Regions from separate parts of the Homo sapiens genome. Here all the other regions are linked to region 1. Evidence: promoter capture Hi-C in human tissues and cell types (Jung and others, 2019). All regions are on one chromosome and are shown on one strand. The core of a region is centred on a gene start or on the middle of the fragment in contact, and the rest is flanking DNA. Distances in the headings are between cores, read along the strand shown.

Region 1 (4,680 bases), core at 1,347-3,846:
GGTGAGATGAGTGACGCACTCGGCTCAGGTACAAAATTTAACAGGTGCCAATAAACTCAGTAGTATAAATATTTTAGTGCAATATTTAAAATTATTTAAAATGTGGATATTGTGTCCATTCTGGATTCTCACATTTTTATTTTTAAAAAATTGTATTAAATCTTTATCTTGATTACGTTTATTGGTACCCTTTACATTTTGCCTCTGAAAAGTATCTCACTCATCTCACTTTGGTGCTGGCTCTGCTTCCCAAATGCATTTTCAGAAGATCAAGCCATATTTGCCACTGCCTTCCATCACATGCCCTGGAAAGGGGGAAAGAGGCTTCATGAGAATAGCAGAGTGGAAGGAAGAAGCAAAAGGGAAAAAAGTAATAATCAAAGAAATAAAAATTAAACAGCAATGAGATACCCCTGCTTGTGCTTTGTCAAACGGACATATTTTAAGATATCGTATCTCCAGCTGGGGGAGTGACAGGGTAAGACAACCATTGAAATCCTGGCTTTTTACATCGGAGCTACCTAGATCATACGGAAGACTGAATCTTAGCACCATCTCTACCCAGCTGCCCTGTTCAACAGGGCAGGCTGCGAGAAATTACTGTATTAGGAAGCTCCAGAGCGGTTGCAGGCAAAGGCTTTGCCTGTTCTTAGGAGATGGCCCTAGAACTTTTCGGATCATTTTTGGGACGTGTTTGCTGCACTTGATATCCTGTTTTTCCAGGGGACTGCCTCCTTCCTCGCCTTTAAGCCTTTTTAGGCTTTTAAGCCGCAGGCAATGATAACCTTTACCCACTGAGGAAAAAGTGATCGGGAGGCGCGTTTTAAATTTTGGTTTACACTAACCAGACCCGCCAGATGAACACTCAGCTTACCACAATACCTACAAATTCCCAGACTTGACTTGGCAGAAGGGCGAGGGCGGAGGTTTTCTTTCCCCATTTGCATAATCCCCAGCTCCCCGGCAGCGGAGCCGACCTCTTCACCGCCGCCGTCTTCGCGGGTGTCCCAGCTGGGCCGCGCCCCGGGGCCCAGCGCTCCGGCCCTGCCCTCCCAGGTTCCCAGTCTCGGGCGCGGGGCAGTCCCTCGCCGGCCGCCGGCCCGGTCCCGGCTCCCAGCCGAGGAAATTTTTCCCCAGCAGCCCAGGGCTCTCCTCACGTGACCAGCCGCGGCGGTAGCTTCCAGCGAGAGTTTAAAGGTTACGGAGGAAATTAGCAAGGACACAGCCACTCGCCCCCCGGAGGGCGCGCCCCATTTTCCCGCAGCCCGGACGGCGGCTGTCAGCGCGCTGATCAGTGCCGAAGTCCCCCAAAGGGGCACCGATAAGGACCAGCGCAAACAGGAACAGTCACTTTGCAAAAAATAAGCAGACCACAAACCAAGCCGGGGCTCTACCGAGCTTTCACTTGTCAACAAGTTCTCGCAGCCTGCGAAGTCCAGGACAGATCCCAAAGGGGAGAATGTCCCCAAAGAAAGGCAAGAGAGAAGAACAGAGTTTAAAACTTCACCCGAGCCATGCTTGTCCCTCCCCCTTCCCCCTCCCCCACCGCCGTGGATCACAGCGTCCCGGGACAGAGTGACAGATGGGCCAGAACTCCGCAGACTGCTCCTGCCCGCCGCGGCCCGAGTGGGGGTGGGCAAGGGAAGGGTCCCGAGGCCTCTAGGGCAACAGGGCCCCCTCCACTCCCCCATCCCCGGCTCTAAAAGACAGTGTTGGCCGCAGGGTCCCCGAGAGATACGCGGCCCGGCGGGGCCCATCCATGGCCATCCACGGCCCCCGGCACGCGCATCCAGCCCAGCGCCGCCGCACCCCGGGGTCCCGCGCGGGGTCCCCGCCCCCCGGCTGACCCGCCCGCCGCTGCGACCCCGGGCAGCCTCGCCAGCTCTCCACCGTTGTCTCCTCGGCTCACTTTTTCCGTATTGCTCCCCCAACCGGCAAAACTTTCTATTTCCCCAAACACTGCCGTGCGCGCGCGCGCGTGCACACACACACACTCACACACACACACTCACACACACTGACGTCTTTTGCGCATTTCCTGCATTAGAGGGAGGGAGACTCGCTCGCACACCGACAGAGGGAGAGGAGACCGCGGGGGAGCGCGGGCTGGCGGGCGGCGAGCGAGCGGCAGCCGAGAGCGGGGACGCGGGGAGCGCGGAGGGCGGGCGCCGGCGCCCAGGAGGTGGGGCCGCGCTGAGTCGCAGTCCCTGCCCCGCCGCCGCGCTGCGCACCGCCCGGTGCTGGCCTGCGCCCCCGAGCCGGATCGGCGGCCGCCCGGACTCCGAGCCCGCGCGGATGTGAGATTCCGGGCTCCTGGCGCCTCCCGATCGCCGGCTCCGGCGCGGCGCTGCTTCGCCCAGGAGGCGGCGGCCCCGGCTGGCCGTGGGGCTTGTGGATTTTTAAAAATTTGGCTCCGAGGAGGACCATTTCCTCTCGACATGCATCCCTCCGGATAGACTGAACATCCCTCCGTTCACCCCCCCGCCCCGCGCGGTCAGAGGCAGGCGCTGAGTGTGCGAAGAGGATCCGGGTTGAAATCTGCGCCCCCGGTTCTCGTCCCCGCCCCGTCCCACCGCCCCATCCCCCTCCCGGAGTCGAAATTTCCCGGGATTATGTTTCGGAAAGGTAGGTAAGCGCCGGGCGCGGCGCCCGCTTTCCCGCAGTCCGGAGCCGGAGAGCCAGCGAGGCGGCGAGGCAGCCCCCGCGGCTTGCAGCGGAGCCGACAGCTCGTCTTCTCTTCTGGAGGTGCAGCTGGTGGTCGGGGGGAGAGACTTGCTCCAAACACGGACATCCCCCAGCTCTCCCCCCTCCCTGTTTTCCGTTAGGAACCCGGCGAGGAAATACATGCACTGGCTGAGAATCGCCCGCGCCAGGGCGCAACGCCACAAGGTGTAGGGAGTGTGCGGGGTGGGGCGAAAGGGGACCCAAGAGTCCCTGTGGCTCGGAGTGCCGGGCCGTCGGTTCTTCATTCCTGCCCTCGGGGCAGACGGAGTGACCCCGGCCCCCACTCCCCGCCCCGACCATGGTAGTGTTCAATGGCCTTCTTAAGATCAAAATCTGCGAGGCCGTGAGCTTGAAGCCCACAGCCTGGTCGCTGCGCCATGCGGTGGGACCCCGGCCGCAGACTTTCCTTCTCGACCCCTACATTGCCCTCAATGTGGACGACTCGCGCATCGGCCAAACGGCCACCAAGCAGAAGACCAACAGCCCGGCCTGGCACGACGAGTTCGTCACCGATGTGTGCAACGGACGCAAGATCGAGCTGGCTGTCTTTCACGATGCCCCCATAGGCTACGACGACTTCGTGGCCAACTGCACCATCCAGTTTGAGGAGCTGCTGCAGAACGGGAGCCGCCACTTCGAGGACTGGGTGAGTGCGGCGCCTCCCCGTCATTCCGGGAACCCGGTTGTGGGGTCCCGGGGAAAGACTCGCTGGTCTTGATCGTAGGGCTCCGGGACTTATTGACGACTGGGGTGTGTGTGCCTGTAAGTCTCAGTTTCCTTGGGGAGGTACACTTCACTTCATAGTTGGGGAGAAACAGGCATTGGCGAGGAAGATGAGACTTGGAAAGAGGATGTGGCCCTCTGCTCCCTCTGTGCCCTCCAGTTGGTGGGTGCTGCGGGAGGTTTGCAAACTGGGAGAGCCTGGGCCACTGGTGCTGAAGGTTGGCCGAGGACCCGGCTTTCTTCCGCAGGCGCGTGGTGGGCTGGCTGTGTGTGATTGTGTGTGGGTGGGTCCCTCCGTCCTTGGAAAGGCACGTGGAGCCTTTGACTGAAGGCTTCTTGCACGTCCTGGCTTTGTCCTGCTTAGCCGAGCGAGGAGTTGCTTTATTTTTCCCTCCGAGAGGAAGCTGGCTTGTTTCTATTCTCTTGCATGGTGGTTAGCTCATCTTCTGACATACAAGTAGAAAAAATGTGTTCTCCTCCAGGATGTCTCCTCTATGGTCCCAGAAACATCAGTCGAGCTTGTTTTGTCCAATTCATTGCCCATCCATGCAGAATGAATGTTGCATTTTAAGAAGGGTTCTGCTTGTGGGTAATTGGAAGTCAGTGCTTTGAATCTTATTTAAAGTTATATTGTTTCTCTGTTTTGATTGTCAAGATACTGTGCAATAAAAGACGATTTCTAAGTATGAGATTGAGTTGTTAATTGATTCCATTATTAAACTATTAAGGATTTGGAAAGAGGTCTTGTCTCAATCTACTATAAACCAAATGCATCCAGTCTTGGCACTTGGACAAGCAGAGAGAAGCAAACCTTCATTTTGCTTTTTGTGTTTGTTTTTGGGTTGTTTTTTTTTTTTTTTTTTTTTTTTTCTCTCTTCTTGGAAGGAAGGTATTAATTTAGGATGTGGATTTTTGTGTTTTCAGGTTTGTTACATGTTTCCAGCAAGTACAAGCGTTCCTCTGGAGGTATATGTTTTCAGGGTTCTTTGGTCTACACAAAAAGTGAGAGAGCTATCTAAGCCTCAAAAGTGGTGTAGAGCAATTGCTTTCTATTGAAAACCAGCTAACTTCATGAATGTCCTAGAGGTCAGAGGTTGCACATGGATCACTTTGGCATATCACCTTACATATTTTTTTCAAGGACACGGAGTTTTAGGGAAAAATAAGAGAGAGCCTGTTGTTTTTGTGCTCATGGCTGTGATGTAGTCTGCCTGAAACCATGGTTACGGTTTC
Region 2 (4,680 bases), core at 1,031-3,530, 400 kb after region 1:
TTCACTGGGCTCAATGTCCCACCAGAGCCCCTCTGCCAGTGCCTCCTACCGAGCAGATGACTTTCTAAGCAAGGTGCTCGGGTCTTGTCACCGAGGGGTGGACGTGCCCAGTGTCGGGGTCTGTCCAGTGGTCCTTGATTCCCCTTTGTCCACGCACTTGGCCTTTCTCCAGGGGGAGACGGATGATAGCTGGAAGTGATCTACTCTGCTTATGGGTTCTGGCCAGTTCTCTCTCTGTTTAGGGGTGAACCAGTGTCTGACAGGTGAACTTTTCCTTAGGGTAGGAAATACATTGGCCTTTAAATGCAAAAGGACACCAGGTCATTGAGCTCAGAACCTTCACCAGCTCTGGAAATATTGTTCCTCTTGCAGGACTCAACTCAGTGTGACTCTTGCCCTCCTCCTTTCTCCTTCCCAGACAGAATGCACTCTGCACTTTCCTATAGCTCTGTATGGGGCACCAGTCATGTGTTGTAATAGTTGGCCTGGAGTGTAGAGACTCGCCAGTAATGCCTCCATCTGACCTACACAGGAGGAACTCCAAAAAACTTTTATAAGCAATTTAGTTAGGCTCTTCTCTGTAGTCTAGAGTCCCAGGGCCTTCCTTGGAGTCCCGTGATGTCTCTTACCTTCATAGTCAGAATTGAAAGGCAGGAAGGAGATACAAGGTCTGTCTTTCCCCTTCTTGACTGAGCTTGGGGCAAGATTGTCCGGGCCCATTTTTCCTAGACGTTTCCTTAGCGCAACCCTCATCCTATTTGATGGTTTCCAGGGACCTCAGGGTTTCTGCTTAGAAGCTTCCCACCTGTCAGTATTGCCGAGTGGGCTTACAGCCTGATAGAAGCCCCCACCTCACTGGATTAGTGCTGCCCTGGTTTCTTCCCAGTCCTGACAATGCACATAGCCCAGCTCTCTCTCATGCCCACAGATACTTTAAGCTTCTATTGACTTAAAGTGGCCTGAGATAGGGCAACAGGAGATGGGACAACCTATCCCAGTTGGTGCAAAGCCCTTTACACGCACATCTTGCAATTAACTGTGAGCCTAGACTGGAGTCCAGCCCTTGGGCAGCCAAGGTAGTTTCTGCCTGATTGTTCCTAAGCAGACTCTGGTCAAGGGGGAAGCAGCTGCAGGTGTAATACCCGCTGCAGGAAATACCTTCTAGTATCCTTGTAGCTGTGGGAAAATATTCTCACTTGAATTCATGAAGGTCACCAGAGGGGCTTCCCTCTGCTTTCCACTCTGCATTCTCGTAAATCCCACCTCTTCTAGAAAGCCTGCCTCAGTTTCCCATCATGCGTTTCCTTCTGCCCAGTTCCTTGTGTTACACATCAGTTTAGCTCTTTCTGATACACCATTTTGTGTTCTGCAGTTGATTTCATGTAATTTACATTTTCCCATCTTGACTAAGACCCTGAGGCAAACCCGAGGCAGGTCCTTCTGTCCATCAAATCCAACACAGTACTGGTCCTGGTGAGTCCTCTGAGAGGTACCCCCAGCATGGTCACCATGGCCAGTGTAGAAGGCTGGGGGTAAAAGCTGGGCCCACCGACTGATGGGGAAACCTAAAGTTCTTGCAGAATTGGAGGCTTGGCACTCCCTCCACTGGCTCCCATTGCCCGCCCTGCTGCCTGGTCCCCAGGGGTAGGGTGGCTTAGCTGGGCTCATGGCCTGTGATGCACATTCCCAGATCTCTGAAGTCATTTCCCTGAAATCACATTTACCGTTCACAAGAAAAAGGCCAAAGCTGGACAAAGGCACTGCTGCCAAGACTCGAGCACTGGTAATTTCTTATGAGCCCTTTGTGATGGTAGAGTTTATGAAATGTAAGTAAACAGGCTTCCTTCTAATCCCTGAGCCGTGAGAAGCTGTCAGGGTTTATTTGCCGAGCCGTCCCTGCATGCCTGTGCATGGCACACCTAGGCTCCAGTGTTCCGCTCGTTAAAAGGTGTCTAATTTCTGTAATCACCTTGGAGTTTAATGGGTTTAAGCCATGTGGGTTGCAGTGGAGAGAAAACATTATTTCTAGTCTTTTGGCTTCCTTTCCTGCCTTCCACACCTCTTCTCTCTCCTTGTCCCTCCCTTGTGAGCTGAATGGATTATAAAATATTAGCTGTGACCTTGTGGGGTGGGAAGGAAGAAAGGTTTCTGTTTCCCGCTCTGTCCTGCCTTCCCAGCCAGCACTGGCCCCTTAATGAGGTTCTAAAGGTAAAGGTATCTGGGACAATTTCAGGACACTGCCACCTGTGGCCTGCAAAGAGCATGACTTGATGGACCTTTGATTTCTTTTTTCCCCCCCAGCCACGTCCTGGGAATAATTTAGGAGCAAGCCAACACATTTGGAGGCATCTTCTCTCATTTCCTTCATTCTTGTCAAAGTCTCACTCTTTTCTAGAAAAGAAATCATGGTCTTTCTCAGTGCCCACAATGGGCAGAAACATCTCTGAAGCCATCACCTGAGGAGTCTTAAAAGGCCCAGTTCTTTGTGGTCCTCCCTTCCTTTCACTTCACCTCACTGTCATCACTTCCTTTATCTCTCCCACTCCCTCACCCCCAAATGAGAGAGGGAAAGGAAGAAGAAAGACAATATGTGCATCGTGTCAGGTGAGAGGAATTAGCTTCCTCCATGGATTCTGCTTTCATAGTCAAGCCACAAATAACTACTGAGATGACTTCAGTTCCTCCCGCAAGAGTAAGCTGATAACAAATCCTCTTTCCCACTGCAAGTCTCAAAACTCCTTCAACTTTCAGCTCATGTTATTTAATGTTGAAATCTGACCTTCCCAGAGCACCACAAGTGGTAGCCTGGGTAGTGGGCCCCTGGGCTGGTGGTTTCTGGTGGCAAGAAGCTGTCCACATGCCTCAGTGCACCATACACATGCTGTCACCTTCTCTCTGATCTGTGACTGTGAAGGTGGGGAGCTGTGGGTAGGGCAAATGTGATTTTCTCACTTAAACAGATGAGGAAACTGAGGTTCAAAGAAGTTATATGGCACATGGCACAGCTGATCTCCCTGGTGCAAGAGAGTGCCCTTGCCATTCTTCTCCCAAGCTGCTGATTTTAAGGTGGCTCTGCTCTCCTTTGGGGAACCTGGAAGACATTTCCTGAATCTAGCACCCGCTTTGAAGGCATGCTGCATCTCAGTTGTTCATGGGCCATTTCCTATTTTCTTTGGGGCTTTTCCACTTACAGGTATTGTTTTCTCTACTTTATTCCCCCTGCTGTTTTTACCTTAGTGAAATAAAGTGAGAAACAAATCCTCAATGATGCTATATTAGTCTGTTCTCACACCGCTATAAAGAAGTACCTGAGACTGGGTAATTTATAAAGAAAAGAGGTTTAATTGTCTCAAAGTTCCACGCGGCTGGGGACGCTTCAGGAAAGTTACAATCATGGCGGAAGGCACCTCTTCAGAGGGCAGCAGAGAGAGAAGAAGTGCACGAGAGCAGGGAAAACTGCCTTATGAAGCCATCAGATCTCGTGAGAAGTCACTATCACAAGAACAGCATGGGGAAAACCGCCCCCATGATCCAGTCCCCTCCCACCTGGTTCCTCCATCAACACCTGGGGATTACAATTCAAGATGAGATCTGGGTAGGGACACAAAGCCTAACCATATCAGGTGCTTTTCAGTGCATGGGAAGGGAGGAGAAAAGCCATATAATCTAAGATTGTGTCACTGTCAACACAGTCCCTTCTTCCTTCCAGTAGTTGAGTCTACCTAAGATTTGAACCACTTTCAAAAGGTAGTGTGTGCAGAGAACACCATCTGATATGTAGAAAATACTAGTCAATACACATGCAAAAGAAGCTACTAGAACTAATAAAAGAGTAGAGCAAGGCCACAGGAGACAAGATCAATATACAAAATCAATTACAGTTCTTTATACTAGCAATGAAGAATCCAAAGGCAAAATTAAGAAAACAGTTCCATTCGCAAAGACATCAAAAAGACTTAATTGCTCAGGAATAAATTTGACAAAAGAAGCTGAAGACTTTTATACTAAAAAGTACAAAACATTCCTGAGGGAAATTAAGGAAGATCAACATAAATGGAAAAAACATTCCATGTTTGTGGAGAAGACACAGTATTATTAAAATGGCAGTTCTCCCCAAATTGATCTCTACATTCAATGCAGTCCCTAGTAAAATCCCAGCAGAGTTCTTGGCAAAAATTGACAAGCCGATCTTAAAATTCATATGAAATTGAATAAGATATGCAAAGGGCTCAGAAGAGCCAATGCAACCTTGAAAAAGAACACAGTTGGAGGACTTAAATTCCTGGTTCTAAAACATACTGTAAAGCTACATAATCACAGTAGTGTGGTACTGGAATAAGCACAGGACATATAGGTCAACAGAACAGAGTTGAGAGTTCAGAAATGAACACTTAACCTTTATCATCAATTGATTTCCAAGAAGAGTACCAAGACCATTCAATGGGAAAAGGATGGTTTTCCATAAATGGTACTGAGACATTTAGTCTTTGCTCTCACACCATACACAAAAGTGAACTCAAAGTGGATTATAAACCTAAACGTAAGAGCCGGTCACCCAACTGCCTGTGAACTTACGGATGAGAAAGCTGAAGGCCAAGGGAACCAGCAGCAGAAAGATGGGCAGGAAGATAAGATTATTGTATTGTCAAAGACTTCAGTAATTTCAAAGAAATAACTGAA
Region 3 (4,680 bases), core at 1,384-3,883, 300 kb after region 1:
TTTATGTTTTGCTTTTTGCACTGGGTCTAACAGTTTTTTCTCCCCCAGTTTGACAACCATGGACCTAGGATCATATTTATCGGTCCATGTTTTCCCTCTTGAACCTCCTGTTTCTCATCTCTGTTCTATCCCTTTGGTCTGTCCCGCTGATACACCATGTTTTAATTGCTTTGACTGTGAAATTTTGATATTTGATAGCGAAGCCTTCATTCTTTGTTGTTTTTTTTTTTAAAGAAAACTCAGTCCAAATATTCTTTATTCTTATCAAATTTTTTGTTGCTTTTTTGGCCATTTTTCTTCTGTGAATTTTAGGATTAGCTTTTCAATTTCTGTGAGAAACCTAGTAGGATTTAAGTTGAAAATGCATTAATTTTTGAATTACTGATGAGAATGGTTATTACATCTATTCAAGTTTTTAATTTCTTTTTAAGTATTATGAAGCAGAACACTTGCCTAAAATGAATGCTTAGAAAATATGTCTCTAATTGGCATCCTGGGAACATAACAAAATAGTTTTCTGCAAAAATGAAATTTTGACCAAAGGCTGAAGCCGTCTTCAGTGAAGTTGTTTTTACCTTTACTGAAAATCAATATATTTACCAAAAATGAATGCTTAGTTTTAACACTAGGAGTAAAAACAGATCACTGCTTTATACACCAGACCATTTATTACCCCATCATGGGACATCAGCCAATCTCTGGTCTTTAGGAGAATGCATTTTATTCCCACTTCTTCTTATGAAAAGCTTTAAATGAAATTTTCTGGCAGAATTTCAGTTACACTGAGTTAATTTATTTCTGCTTCTCACATTCTAATTTTGAGGATGGCAGATAAAGATGTCACAGCACATTTGCATGAGGAACTCTGGCTGGATGAGGAGAAAATAACTTCAAGGTCATTACCAGGGTTTATGCTCGACTGTGCCCCAGTTTCCCCTGGGATTACAAGATGCCTGGTTTGATGATGCCCAGGCCAAGTGTCTAATAAGCCATGGAGTGAAAAAGGTTACTTCAAGCACGCAGAGGGCAAAGCGAGAGATGGATATCAAGGGGCGGGGTGCAGATCCACCCTTGTGTCTGCCAAGTGTCTGTTGTTCACACTTCCGTTGGCTCAAGGTGAGAAGTGCTTGGGGACAGCAACAGCAGCTGGTGGACAAGAGGGAGTACTGGTGTTCCTAGAGGACCAACTTTCCTAGAGGACCTCTCAGAACTGGCTCCTCTAATTAAGTCCTGGAACTATCAGCCTCATTTCTTTGACTTATCTCTGCCCACTTGGTGGCTCCCGATCTGAGATCATGTTCACTTGGCCACCAAGACAAAAGCTCCAAATAGTGTCCTTGTACATCCCCAGTCATGACTGTGAATTGCACTACAATCCTGCCCACAGCTTAATGCTCGGTGCCCAAACCATCACTGTAAAGCCAGTGTTCAAACACTATCGTGTTATCCGGTGCTGCTCTGGCTGCAAAAGATTTCCTGGGGAGTTGATTAAAGTTACAGATTTTCAAGCCTCACCCAGTGGAATTGGGGAGTGGCTCTGGAGTTTATGGCTTCACTAGCTTCCCAGGTGATTCTGGTAAGTAGCCCAGATTGGGAACCACTGCTTTAGACAACTTTAACCTAAGGCTCTAAGGAGGAACCCAGTCCTCTGGGAAACAGCTTCATACAGACTGTCGAGGAAGTCGTGTTTCCAGTCAGTCATGCCAGGTAGGTCCCTCTGTCTTGCAAGTCTTTGGGCTTTCATAATTCCTCCCTAACTCTGACTTCCTCACTGAGACTAGGCAGTATGTATGTGTCCATGGCCCCCACTCCTGAGTCAAGGCTTCTCTGGGCCCAGAAAGACAGCCCTTTTGGCTTGGGGCCACACTTAGATGTTAACCACAAGATACGTGCTCTGCTTCCTCTAGGTTTAAAGGTGCCGCTCTCCCTAGGACCAATGCAGCATCTCACAAAATGAGGGCCCCAGCTGAGCCAATGCAACTCTGTGCTGGAGGCAAATGTAGCAAAGGCTGAGCACTTTTGTACACAACCACATACAATGAGTCTGGTTCTTCCACACCTCATCCTCTGAGTTTGTGCCAAGCTGGATCAAAGCACGAGTGAGTGGTTTAAGACTGTAAAATGTGACAAACTCAGTTGATCCAGACTCTCAGACTCTTTTGTTTTGTTTTGTTTTGTTTTTTGAGACGGAGTCTTGCTCTGTCGCCCAGGCTGGAGCACAGGGGCGCCATCTTGGCTCACTGCAAACTCTGCCTCCTGGGTTCAAGCTATTCTCATGCCTCAGCCTCCTGAGTAGCTGGGATTACAGGCATGTGCCACCACATCCAGCTAACTTTTGCATTTTTAATAGAGACGGAGTTTCATCATGTTGGCCAGGCTGGTCTTCAACTCCTGGCGTCAAGTGATCTACCCGCCTCGGCCTCCCAAAGTGCTGGGATCACAGGCATGAGCCACTGTGCCCAGTTGATTCAGACTCTTAAAAGAGCCTGACTCCTAGAATGTTAGACCTATCACCTAGTCTGATTTTTCCATCACATAGATAAACAACTGAAGCCCAGAGAAGGAAAGGGACTCACCCAACTAGGTGGTGGTCGGCAAAAGAGCCCAGGCCCCAAAGTTATAATGATATACACATTTCATTACACCATGCTGCCCCTGGGCCTCGCAAGCGTACATAAGTCATCACTATGCTGGGCTGTTCTTGTTCTCTCTCTCTCATGGGCTTAACACACAGAAGCACCCTGAATTTTAAACCAATAAAACACCCCTCCTTTTGCTGGAAGTATACATTCTAAAGGAACATGGACTACACGCAGAATTTATTATAAAATACTTCAGGCTCCCTTGTTAACTAATGGTTCAAATTAAAGGAACATAAAGCAACCCCTATTTTACGTTGAAATTGCTATGTTAAAAGTTTAGATTTACCAAACAGTTGAATTAAGATGTAATTATTAGCATTTCCAAAAAATGTAGTCGCTCTTCAAAAGCACTCACCACAGGATTCCCTTATATAGCACTTAATGTACTTAATGTACTGTACATTTAAAATTGGTTTTGATTGATGGGAGGGCCATTGACATGCAGCTTTCCAGGAACACAACTTTTTATAGAAAAAGTAGGAACACTGAATGTGCTTTGTTTAGGCTATTATGTGCCATGTCACATTAAAAGTCTATTAGACAACCAGTGTCTCTTTTCAACGAGCTTATAAATTAACAGCACGAAACACAGCAGCCAAATAAAACTATAGATCACAGTATGAGGATTTGTCTTAAGCGGTAGGCTGAGTTCACCCTGACATCTCATTTTATGGACAGGGAGGTCAAGCCCGTTGCCTTTCTTGACATTACTGAGTAGTGTTTGAGATAATGAAATGCTTAAATAATAGTAATTCTGAAATAACTCTAGATCTGTTTTCAAGTTTTAGCATTTGCCCCGGATTACCTGGGAGGTGAACACAGTTCTGAACCCCCTTCCCCATGGCCAGGTGGTCCAGGCAAATGCATCTGTAATGCCCCAGTACTTTTGATGGAACATACCTAGAGGATCTCAGAACCAGAAGGAACTTGAAAAACATGAACCATCCCATGTAATTTTGTCTTGGGGAAGATGAGGCCAAGGCAAGAGAAATGACCTACCCACGGGTCACATATTTGGTTGTGACATATGTCAGAGCCAAGACGATTCTCCATTACTGGACTCCCTGCCCAGGGCACTTTTCATACGCTTTTCAATTTGGATAGAACATCCTCCTTGCTCTCTCTCTTCCTCCCTTCCCTCTCCCTGAACAGCCAGCTACCGCTCCCTTTCCCCTCCTCTGGAACACCTCTCCTGGAATACCCAACCGTGGGCTGTGCCCTAAACTAAAAAATGACATTGAACCCAAAACACTCATTCAGTGTCACTGCTGAGTCAGAAAGTCACCGGCTTGATCAGTGCGGTTGTCCCTCGATGCCTCTCCTACTTTTTAATTGCGCCCCCATCCACTCTTGCTGTCACTGCTTTAAACACTGGCTGCACATTAGAATCCCCTTGTGAGCTTTAAGAAAAGTACCAGTGCCTGGGCTCCCCCCGAAGAGATTGTGATTCAGTTGTCTGTGGTGGGCCACAGGCGCTGGCTTTCTCAGCACTCTCCAGGTGAGTTTAACCTGCAGGCAGAGTTGAGAGCCCGTGTTGTGCAATATTAGTCCTAATTATTTTCGTGTACCTCCTGGACCTAAATTACCAGTTGATGTAGGCAAAGCACAGAGGAAGTCAAATTTTCACAGAAGTGAATGGATTCACAAAAGCTGTCTATTTTCCTAAGACAACATAAGCTGCCCTTCCCTACTGCAATCTTATCTAGTGCCAGTGCCTTTGCCTATTACAAAATTTAAAAAGACTTTCAAATGTCATTTTCTATAAATCTACTGGCCAGTTCTTGGAATAAAACAAATCTCCTTGGTCCTGCTCCCACTTTGAAGGTGGCCTTAGGTGCGCAGGGACTTTGTGTGGCCCTAGTGAATCTTGGCAAGGAAAACAGTTCTCAAAATTGTTCACAAACGTGTGCCTGTGTATTACTGAAATAAGTCTGTATACCCAAGCCAAATGACAGCTAATGGCTTCCTTATCACTAAATATTGGAGTCAAAAGAATTTAGAGGCCAGGTAGAAAATTTCTGAAGAGCAGACAATTTTC

What was found. The method cuts DNA at HindIII sites, captures the fragments that hold promoters and counts their contacts. A contact is called where the count stands out against the background at its distance.
Region 2: a contact is called between a fragment that was not itself captured here and the fragment with the promoter of PRKCE in region 1, in 1 of the 25 tissues and cell types used here (bladder).
Region 3: a contact is called between a fragment that was not itself captured here and the fragment with the promoter of PRKCE in region 1, in 2 of the 25 tissues and cell types used here (dorsolateral prefrontal cortex and liver).

The regions. Positions count from the first base shown.
Region 1 is chr2:45,649,079-45,653,758 of GRCh38, forward strand. PRKCE (protein kinase C epsilon) reads left to right here and starts at 2,597. Exons shown (of 15, transcript NM_005400.3): 1 at 2,597-3,370. The coding sequence starts at 3,023. It overlaps LOC102724965 (a long non-coding RNA gene), which reads right to left and starts at 2,137. Exons shown (of 2, transcript XR_005647119.2): 1 at 887-2,137; 2 at 1-305. RefSeq lists silencers at 1,027-1,126, 1,757-1,856, 2,027-2,496 and enhancers at 1,872-2,166, 2,655-3,275. The HindIII fragment of the contact is 9,634 bases long and covers 1-4,680 here.
Region 2 is chr2:46,048,457-46,053,136 of GRCh38, forward strand. All of the region lies in intron 10 of PRKCE (protein kinase C epsilon), which reads left to right. Among named protein-coding and RNA genes, the nearest start is that of EPAS1, 250 kb to the right of the region's middle. The HindIII fragment of the contact is 4,547 bases long and covers 8-4,554 here.
Region 3 is chr2:45,949,668-45,954,347 of GRCh38, forward strand. The region is part of intron 2 of PRKCE (protein kinase C epsilon); the gene reads left to right. Among named protein-coding and RNA genes, the nearest start is that of PRKCE-AS1, 280 kb to the left of the region's middle. The HindIII fragment of the contact is 8,884 bases long and covers 1-4,680 here.